2 separate regions of the Homo sapiens genome follow, and region 1 is linked to region 2. Evidence: promoter capture Hi-C in human tissues and cell types (Jung and others, 2019). All regions are on one chromosome and are shown on one strand. Each heading gives the region's core, a stretch centred on a gene start or on the middle of the fragment in contact. The rest is flanking DNA. Distances are from core to core; before and after follow the strand shown. Region 1 overlaps TMEM72-AS1 (TMEM72 antisense RNA 1). Region 2 holds the start of ZNF485 (zinc finger protein 485).

What was found. The method cuts DNA at HindIII sites, captures the fragments that hold promoters and counts their contacts. A contact is called where the count stands out against the background at its distance.
Region 1: a fragment that was not itself captured here is called in contact with the fragment with the promoter of ZNF485 in region 2 in 1 of the 25 tissues and cell types used here (dorsolateral prefrontal cortex).

The regions. Positions count from the first base shown.
Region 1 is chr10:44,867,841-44,873,002 of GRCh38, reverse strand. All of the region lies in intron 2 of TMEM72-AS1 (TMEM72 antisense RNA 1), which reads left to right. Among named protein-coding and RNA genes, the nearest start is that of TMEM72, 41 kb to the left of the region's middle. The HindIII fragment of the contact is 3,983 bases long and covers 1-3,930 here.
Region 2 is chr10:43,602,905-43,608,556 of GRCh38, reverse strand. ZNF485 (zinc finger protein 485) reads right to left here and starts at 2,119. Exons shown (of 5, transcript NM_145312.4): 1 at 2,011-2,119; 2 at 1,483-1,560. The coding sequence starts at 1,506. It also overlaps the pseudogene CAP1P2. RefSeq lists a silencer at 1,804-2,083 and an enhancer at 2,364-2,413. The HindIII fragment of the contact is 5,082 bases long and covers 1-4,543 here.

The DNA of each region.
Region 1 (5,162 bases), core at 690-3,189, 1.3 Mb before region 2:
GAGAAATGACCGAGGTCCCATGGGGAGGAAGGAATTCTGCCTCCAGACTGTCCTGGAACTCAAGACTGCAACATCAACTCCTGCCAGCTTTTCCAGCCTGCCAGCTTACTTTGAAAATTGCCAGCCCCCATGATTGTGTGAGCCAATTCCTAATCTCTTCTCATATATATATATATATATATATATATATATATATATATATATATATATGTATGTATACATATACCGTATGGCTCTGTTTTTCTGGAGAACTCTGATAAATACAAACAGCATTAGAATCCAATCTCAGCAATTTCTCATTTAGCCCAAGCTCAGCTGCACAATCCTTCTCAGTGCAAGACTCCAGACAACTGCTTTCAATAGGCAGGAGCCAGCATAGGCATGCCACTTAATAGCTGTCCAGGACTTAAGATGGTAACTGGGGGCCGAAAAATTTGTAGGTATACCTGATTTGGCAGAAACCATTTGATTTTAGGCTATTCTTTAGAAAATTCTTTATTGAAAAATATCTAGATTTCAGTGGGAAGTTAAAAAATGGATGGATCCGAATTTGAATCCCTGCTCTAACTTACTCTCTAAGTGGCCTCAGGCAAGTCACTTAACCCATGTGATCAATATTTTCTTCATCAATGAAGCAAGCCGGGAGTGGTAGCTCATGCCTGCAACCCCAATGCTTTGGGAGGTTGAGGTGGAAAGATGGCTTGAGGCCAGGAGTTCAAGACCAGCCTGGGCAAGATGGTGAAACCCCTATCTCTACAAAAAATACAAAAAAATGTTGGGCATGGTGGCATACACCTGTGGTCCCAGCTACCCAGGAGGCTGAGGTGGGAGGATCGCTTTAGCCCAGGAGGTTGAGGCTGCAGGGAGCTATGATTGCACCACTGCACTCCAGCCTGGGCAACAGAATGAGACCCTGTCTTTAAAAGAAAAAGAAATGAACCAAAGGTACTAAGGCTTTCCTTCTGTGGTTTTAATAAAGCTTCTAGGTAGCACATCTCAGGTGCCAATTTATGTCAGGCTTATTGTAGGCGCTCGGTGAATAATAGTTATTATGGTTTCAGCTTGCCATTCCCCAAACTGGAGGTATGCCAGAAAGATATTACTGTTAACTGGGAGTCCTAGGTAACTGTTCTCTCTGGTGAATCTGTGATTTACTGTAACACAGTAGAGATAACATGTTTAATTGTAATCAATATAGCAACATTATTATTTGAGCAATGCAGTAGGCACTGACTGGGGAGGGATGCATCCCAAGAATGTGGGAGCCATAGCAGCAGCCCTTGGTGATGAGCAGTACTAAGGCTATGATGAAGGCTGTCAAGGATGCACCCACATTTCATCATAGAAAGAAGCCAGGCAAGCCATGGGCTCTGGGAATTTCTATTAAAACAATATAGACTTTTAAGGGGGGATGTGGGGTACACAATCTATTGGAAATGTTATTTGTCCTACATAATTCTAGGGACATGAATGATGTAGGGAAACAATGTTATCAAACAACACGATTTTCTGTTTCAACTGAGAGGAAGAGTGGCCTATTCAAGTAAGCCCAGATTAATGTGTGAACATAGCTAAAAGGATCAGCATTTTCCTGTTACTTGAACACTCACAGTGCATTCAATTATATTTTAATGAACTTGAAAAACTGAATTCAATAGAAACAGTTTTGGAAGACTAAGAGGCAAAGCTTAATGATGAAGATATTAGAAAAGTTATACAAACTAATAACTACTAAGAAAAGTAAGGTGGTATTCAAAGATTTCCCCTCCTCAAATCCCCAAGCCCGGATGGGTTATAGATGAATCTTACTAAATTTTCAGGAACAGTTAATTGCTAATCTTTATAAGTGGTTCCGTAAGATGGGAAGAGAAAGTTGTGTAGCTCATTTTATGAGTCTAATGTAATTCATAACTCAAGTATCAGATAAGAACAATAAATACAAAGAGAAGAAGACTTCAATTGATTAGTATATCAACATTGAAGGAAAAACTAAATCTTGGCTAAGTGAATCAAATCTTTTGTTAAGAATATATTATAATTAAGTAGGATGCCACCTAGGAATACAAGAGTGACTCATCATTGGAAAAATTGTCATAAAATCTTTTGTTAAAAATATTGCCATATTAAAAGACTACTGAAGAAAAATTACATGGCAATTAAAATTAATACAGAAATAGTACTTTATGAAATTCAACAACTTTTATGATTAAAAAAGCATAGAAAACTAGGAACAGGAGGAAATTTCCCTAACTTGGCAAAAGTTATATTCAAAAAAACCTACCACAAACCTAATATTTAATGGAGAAACATAAGACCCATTTCCTTTGAAATTACAAACAAAATAAGGATGTCCAATGCTATGGTCTGAATGTCTGAGGCCTCCCCAAATTCATATATTGAAAATTTCAAGATAATGGTATTAAAAGGTGCGGCCTTTGGAAGATGATTAGGTCATGGGGGCAGAATCCTCAGGAATGGGGTTAGGGCCTGAGACCCCCTCATCCCTTCTACTGTATGAGGACACAGTGAGACTGTGTGCAGAAAGCATGCCCTCACTAGACACCAAATATTTTAGTGTCTTGATGTTGGAATTCCCAGCCTCCAGAACTGTGAACAATAAATTTCTGTTGTTTATAAGCCACCCAATTTAGGGTATTTTTTATAGCAGCCCAAATGGACTAAGACATCCATTCTAACTGTTTCCGTTTGGCACAGTGTTTGAGGTTCTGGCCAATGTTGTAAAAAGAGGAAAAAAAAAAAGCTGGAAGAGTTGGTGTGTGAGAGAGATTCTAGCTGCTCTATTGAGGGCCAGTGACGGGCAGGGGTGAAGGCGGCGGGGATCGGACCAGACACTAAATCACTCCGGCTTGAGCTGGGTCTGTAGCTATATAGGTGGTGAGAAGTGGTTGGATTTTGGGTAAATTTTGAAGATGTGCTTGACAAATTTGTCAAAGGATTTGAAAGTGGGGAACGAGAAAAAGAGAGGGGCCAAGGGTAATTCTGTGTTTTTTTGGTTTTGTTGTGTGTGTGCTATTTTTAACTCGAGCAGTGGGAATTACTAAGATGGGGAGACAGTGGGAAGCATAGTTTGTGGGAATTTTGAAAATGCCAAGTTTGAGATCTCTACTAGATATTTAAGCAACGATGCCAAGAGGTAGAGAGGACTCTAGGGTTCAGGGAGGAGGTCTGAGCTACAGGGAGACATTTGAGGGTGGTCAGTGTAGAGATGAGATTCAGAGCTATGAAATCCAGTGAGCTCACCAAAGGAGGCGAGTTAGAGAAAAGAAGACTGAGTTTTAGGGCGCTGCCAGTTGAGAGGTTGGGGCAATGTTGGGGGAAGGAGAAAGACCATCCAGGAAAGTATGAGGAAAACTACAGGCACACGGTGTCCCAAAGGACAGGTGGAGAAAGCTTCTGTAGAGAAAACGCTCAGTGATATTTTCTGAGAGTCTGAACACGTGACAAAAGGGAGTGAATCCTTTTCTCCTTCCCTTCCTCCCTTTCTACCTCCTTCCTTCCTTCCACAAGGGTGTAAATTCCTCTGTCCCTCCCTTTCCTTCCTCCCTGCCTCTCCGTCTCCCCTCCCTCCCTCCCTTCCTCCCTCCCTCCCTCCCTCCCTTCCTTCCTTCCTTCTTTCCCTCCTTCCTTCCTGTCTTCCTTCTTTATGAATGTTTACAGCTTTGTTTAGGTATAAACAACACAGAATAAATTGCACATGTTTAAAGTGCACGATCTAAGTTCCGACATATGTCTACATCTATGAAATCACCACCACAATCACTATAGTGGCCCTATCCGTCACCCCACACATTGCCTCCTGTCCCTTCTAGTCCTCCATTCTGCCCTCCCCATTGCGTCTCTGCACATGGGGAGCCTCTCCACAAAATATCTGCTTTCCATCAGTATAGCTTAGTCTGCTCGAATTTTATATAAATAGCATCTAACAAAAACCCTTTTTTTTGTCTGGCTGCTTTCAGTCAGCATAATGATTATGACTTTTTTCCATGTTGCTTGTATCGATGGTTCATTCCTCTTTACTGCTGAGTAGCATTCCACTGAATGAATCACCACATTAGCTTATCACAAATAGTTCCTCCTATATATGCTTATAGAAGATTCATTGTTTTGTTTTGAGTGAATTTTGGTAGGTGCTGCAAAATATGAATTTAATTCATTTTGATTCATATGGATATCAAATTGTTTCCATTTGATAGACTGGAATAGACTATCTTTCCCACGTTGGATTACCTTTGCACCTTTGTCAAATCTCAGTTGCTCTTATGTGTCTGGGCCATGTGTAGCTTTTCTTATTTAGGGACATTTGTCTTTCAGAATAACTTTGTCAGTTTCTACAAACCCCCCTACTCCCTGCTTTGGGGGCTTATATGGGGACTGATCATTTCTTTTTACTGCTGAGTGGCATTTCATTGAATGAATCGCCTCAGTAAGCTTCTCACAAATAGTTCTCTCTATATTTTCTTCTAGAAGTTTCATTTTTTTTTTTTTTTTGCATTTTGGGGGCAAAGTGACATATTAGTGGTATTAGATATTCAAGTGGAGATGCCAGGAGGTAGAGAGGAATCTAGGGTACAGGGAGGGGGTCTTTTGATCTTTATATCAATTTGAGGGCAAATTGACATCTTAGTGGTATTATATTTTCTGATCCATGAATGCAACGTATCTTCCATTTTTTGAGCTCTTTAAAATTTTTTTCTGAGCAATGTTTTATGGTTTTTAGTGTACAGTTCATTCATATCATTTGTTAAATGTATCTCTAAGTATTTCATATTTTTGATGCTATTTTAAATGATACTAGATTTAAATTTTAATTTCTGATTGTCATTGCTAGTGAAAATATAAAACAATTGGTTTTTGTATATTGATCCTCTATCCTGCAACCTTATTAAACTCACTTGTTAATTCTAATATCTTTTTGTGTAGGCCACGTTGAATTTTCAATATAGAAAATCCTGTTATCTATGAATAAAGACAGTTTTACTTCTCCCTTCTAATCTCAATGCCTTTTATTTCTTTCTCTTGCTGTATTGTATTTGCTAGAAAATGTTGAAAAATGTTGAAAAGAAGTTGTAAGAGTACATAGTTTTGTCTTGTTCTTCATCTTAGGGGAAAAGCATTAAGTCTTTTAGTATTAATGGTAATGT
Region 2 (5,652 bases), core at 870-3,369:
AGAAGGAAGCAAGGTGGTCAAAGCCAGCTTCTGACAGTTCCAACAGTGCTCATGGAAACCAACAAGTAAAAGCTGAGGGCTCAGGGGATGTGCGACTCCTCCCTTGAGCAGGTTCTTCCTGCATGCCTGTCCTGCTCCCTCCTCCAGGCCTAGCCTCTGCTCACTCCACCCTTCATGTCACCTCATCAAAAAGGTCTTCTATTTCTCCACCCCATCCTCTGCCACTCAGTCTCGAAACCCATTTCACTTTTCTTCACAGGATTTCTCACCACCTGGCAGGAGAGGTTTGCACTGACTGTCAGCATCCTCTCTAATGTGAGCTCCAGGGGGACAGTGTGGGTCACTGCTGCCTCCCAGTCAAAAACACTGCCTGACACAGAAGTGTTCAAGCTTTATTCAATCAACAAATGAATAGAAACTTTGAAAAGACATGGAAAGTGATTAGCTTTATCCGAGAATTTACAGGGAGTATGATCTGACTCTGGGGCAGAATATTTTTAAAAAAGAAAAAAAAATTGCTTTTCATAAGAGTAACAACTTACTATGTACCAGCCACGGTGCTAAACCCTGAGATACATATCATCTCTCTAAATTTCTGCCGTAACTATATAAAGTAAAATCTATTTCGTAGCTAAAGACACAAAGGTTCAGAGAGTTGGAAGAACTTGCTCAAGGTCCCAGGGCTGGTTGAAGGCACAGTATAAAAGGAAGCCACAAAAAGTGGTAATGAAACTAGAACAAATTGGAATGGCTATGAAATACTAAAAGAAAAAATGAGTAAGCCTTAAAAAAATGAAAAGTGTGTTTCAAATGAAATTACTTGACTTAGAGCAGTAGAAATGTAGGTGATCTTTAATTTTTTTAATTTTATTTGTATAATAGACACTCAAATGTTTATCACTTCCTTTCAAAATACCAATTATTTAATCAGCTTCTCAAAATCCTTCAAAACCTAGTTTTCTCCAGGATAAAAGCAAACTCCAGTCTGGGATTCTAGACCATGAATGTTTCCAACTTTCTCAGACCAGTTTGTTCATGGTCCCGCCATAATGACTTCATTCAGGCAGCGCTTTCCCCTAGTATCCTCTGCAATTATGCAAATCTCATTTATTCTTCAGGAAGAACTAAGGCGCCCACTACTCCACCCCTCCCACCCTACCACACACTAAAGGTCAAGAGAGCACTGCTATCACCCTATGTCTTTATGGCCTACGTCTTTACATGCTAACGTGTATTTTTTTCATCGTCTGCCAGTTTGCAAAGCACTTTTCTGTTTCTAGCACTCTAGAAAACATGGGTAGCAATAATCTACTTGGTGAATGACTACGTAATGGGTAGACAGGACGGAAATCGCGGGACCCATCCAGGATTGGTTCGGGTAGCTTTGTCCACACACAGGGCAGGGCATTGTCCGGGCAAGAGGCATAAACCCCACCTCGCTGAAACACGTGGTTTCTCAAGAAATGGAAAAATCAAACTTGCCTGGATCTGGGCTCTTGGGGCCATCTGTCTCCTGAACTGTTCTCCCAGGCAAGGGCTGAGAATCCTGCGTAAGTCAATCTGGGAAAGAAGAGAGGAAATTGAGGAAGTCCCTCCGTGCCCTAGCCTAGCTAGAATCTGCCCTCTAGACCAGGTCCCCGCCCGCCCGTTCCCTCCACAGGTGGGCAGACAGGTCCAGGTGGGTACGCTCGGGAAGAAAGGAAAGGGAACGGCTGCTGGGATCCGGCCTGGACTGCAGCCAGCTCCACGCCAAACACTTTTGGCAGCACCGGGGGACGGCCTTGTCAGTGGCCCAATCTGTCGGCCGGGGCGCAAGGCTGGAGCGCTCTGTGATGCACCAGCCTCGAGCGGTCGCTCCACACGGCGCAGCCACTGCGGGTGGGCACTGCCCACCGCCGCCTTCCCCTCCCACCCCGGCTCGCCCCTCGACCCGCCCCTGGGAAAGGCGGGGAGCACCCGCCAGGGGCTCGAGGCTTCAGGGACCCAGCCTGACCCCGGCCGCTCACGAACCGAACCGAGCCGGCAGGGCTGCGGAGCTGCACGCCCAGAGAGTCAGCGACCACACCACGCCGTTCGGACAGTAACCACCAGCCAGGGGCTGGTGCAGCGCTCGCACCACGCGGAGACAGGCTGGACCGGAAGCGGAAGTGGCTGAGGCCGCGGAGGCCTCTGGGAAACGTAGTCTGGGCCGCTTGGGGTCTTAGGGGCTCCATCCGCAGAGCAGGTTGGCATCACCTGGGAATCTTTGAAAAGTGAAGGTGCGGGAAGTGGAGAGCGGCTGATCGCAGTCGGGAGGTGATACATTATGACTGACATGCAAAATCTGGTAAAAAATTGGACAGGGCAGTGGGCCGCCTGGAGGCAGTATCCCATACCTCTGACATGCACCGTGGATATGGAGATAGTCCTTCAAAAGCAGGAGCAGCTCCATATGCGCAGGCATTTGACTCGCTGCTTGCCTGCCCTGTGGCAGAGTACTTGAAGATCAGTAAAGAGATTGGGGAAGACGTGCAGAAAGATGTGGAGATGGTACACACAGTTTTGAAGTTGGAGTGAGCTCTCTTGGTTACAGCTTCTCAGTGTCAATAGCCGGCAGGTAATAAGCTTTCCGATCTGTTGGCACCTATCTCAGAGCAGATCAAAGAAGTGATAACCTTTTGGGAGAAGAACCGAGGCAGCAAGTTGTTTAATCAGCTGTCAGCTGTCAGTGAAAGTATCCAGGCCCTAGGCTGGGTGGCTATGGCTCCCAATCCTGGCCCTTATGTGAAAGAAATGAATCATGCTGCTGTGTTTTATACAAACTGAGTCCTTAAAGAGTACAAAGATGTGGATAAGAAGCATGTAGACTGAGTCAAAGCTTATTTAAGTATATGCACAGAGCTGCAGGCTTACATTAAGGAGTTCCATACCACCGGACTGCCTGGAGCAAAACGGGGCCTGTGACAAAAGAACTGAGTGGACTGCCATCTGGACCCTCTGCTGGATCAGCTACTCCTCCCCCACCACCAGGCCCCCCTCCTCCACTAGTCTCTGTCAGTTCAGGCTCAGATGAGTCCGCTTCCCTCTCAGCACTGTTTGCGCAGATTAATCAGGGGGAGAGCATCACACATGCCCTGAAACGTGTATCTGATGACATGAAGACTCACAAGAACCCTACCCTGAAGGCTCAGAGTGGTCCAGTACGCAGTGGCCCCAAGCCATTCTCTGCACCTAAACCCCAAACCAGCCACAAAGAAGGAGCCAGCTGTACTTGAACTGGAGGGCAAGAAGTGGAGAGTGGAAAATCAGGAAAATGTTTCCAATCTGGTGATTGATGACACAGAGCTGAAACAGGCGGCTTACATATACAAGTGTGTCAACACGATGTTGCAAATCAAGGGCAAAATTAACTCCATTACAGTAGATAATTGTAAGAAACTTGGTCTGGTATTCGATGATATGGTGGGCATTGTGGAGATAATCAACAGTAGGGATGTCAAAGTTCAGGTGATGAGTAAAGTGCCAACCATTTCCATCAACAAAACAGATGGCTGCCATGCTTACCTGAGCAAGAATTCCCTGGATTGTGAAATAGCCAGTGCCAAATCTTCTGAGATGAATGTCCTCATTCCTACAGAAGGCGGTGACTTTAATGAATTCCCAGTTCCTGAGCAGTTCAAGACCCTCTGGAATGGGCAGAAGTTTGTCGCCACAGTGACAGAAATTGCTGGATAAGCGAAGTGCCACTGGGTTCTTTGCCCTCCCTTCACACCATGGGATAAATCTGTATCAAGACGGTTCTTTTCTAGATTTCCTCTACCTTTCTGCTCTTAAAACTGCTTCTCTGCTCTGAAAAGCACAGCTACCTGCCTTCACTGAAATATACCTCAGATGTGCAGTGGGATAGCAGGTCAGTTGATCTTCTGCAGGAAGGTGCAGCTTTTCCAAATCAGCTCAACTGCCGACGAGGACTAATGATGCATTTTAGCTTTGAGCTTTGGGGGTTATTCTACCAACAAACAGTCCACTGGGAAGAAAACAGTCCCAGGAATTAACAGATCAGAACGTTCACACTGGTTAATCTTTTTCTGACAATGAGCATGAAGGTAGCAGAAGCTGGTGTGTTTCCAGATGGTTCTTCTAACCAAACTAATTTTTCACTATTGACAAGTGAGGCAAGGATTGCACTGGACCAAAGGCTGAGGCTTGGCCATCTAGCATTCCACGCAAAATTGTTTCCTATAAGCATTCCTTTTATTCACTATTCTATCCTGGGTCTGCCTCAACCATGAGATAGGAGAGTCTCCGGTACTAGCTGCTGTAGCAGTGCCCTTCATCCAGGGCAGTTAAAGGAGTATTCAACCCTTTCTTTCTCTGGGATCCCTGCCCAGCACCTTCCTACAGAGATGAAAAAAAAAAAAAGGAAAAACAACACTCCATTCCAAGGAGTCTGGTATTCCTGAATCCTCCTTCCCTGCTAGGTGCCTGTCACCTGTCTTCACTGCCTCCTTTTCCCTGTCACACTCACCAGCTTATGGCTTCTGTCCAAGCACCTGAACAGGGGACCAAAACCTCCACTGCAAGCTGCTTTTAGGTCTTGATTTATGTAAGAATCTTGCACAGCACTGCTAATGTAAATTTCAGTTTTTTCCCTCTAGGACAAACACTTACCAAAATACGCAACTTTTTTGGTGGGAAGAGAGATTGTCCTGTGATTTCTACCCATTTCCTGATCCTGTGGAAATAAATCTTTATGTACTTAAAGTTATACAGAAAATAGAATGAAATAAATACCAAAAAAAAAAAAAAGCAAAGTGAAGGTACCTGGGTCCCAGCTTCAGAGATTCTGAATTAATTGCCCTAAGTGTGGTCCTGGCATTCGGATTTTTTAAAGCCCCCAAGTGGTTCTAATGTACTGCTTAGGTTGACATCTGCCACCAGAAACTGATACGGAAAGTATGAGAGACATATTTTATGTGCCTTTGGATAGCTATTTGTTTCCAAATAATCCTGTTTTTATTTCATACAAATAAAAAGCATGTTAGAAAAGTACATCACCTAGAACACTAAAAACATTATTTCCTCACTATTTGCTGACATAGAAAATGAAAGTAGGTTGAATCTGTTTTAACAAATGTATTATTTTCTAGGAAAAACATATGTTTCTATTTATTAACTCCAGGAATTGGAAAGCTAAGGGAGGAAAATGTATCTCTCTCATTCAATTAGGGCCTTTTTTTTTAAGAAAATTTCTCAGGATGGTGCATTCATTTACCAATTTACCAGTGATTGACCAAAGGCCCACTGCGTGCTACTCACTTCTGGATGCTAAGGATAGAACAGCTGACAAGCGTCCCTCCTAGACTAAAGTGGAGTCAGGCTCCTTTGCATCCTCCTTTCAACTATGCCTTGTCTTGGCCTGGTGAGCCGAGTTTTAGCCAAGAATCCTACAAAGCCACTTTATCAAGAATCATGGCCAGGCATGGTGGTTCACACCTGTAATCCTAGGACTTTGGGAGGCTGAGGCGGGCGGATTGCCTGAGCTCAGGAGTTCGAGACCAGCCTGGGCAACACAGTGAAACCCCGTCTCTACTAAAATACAAAAGAAATTAGCTAGGCGTGACAGCGTGCGCCTATAGTTCCAGCTACTCAGGAGGCTGAGACAGGAGAATT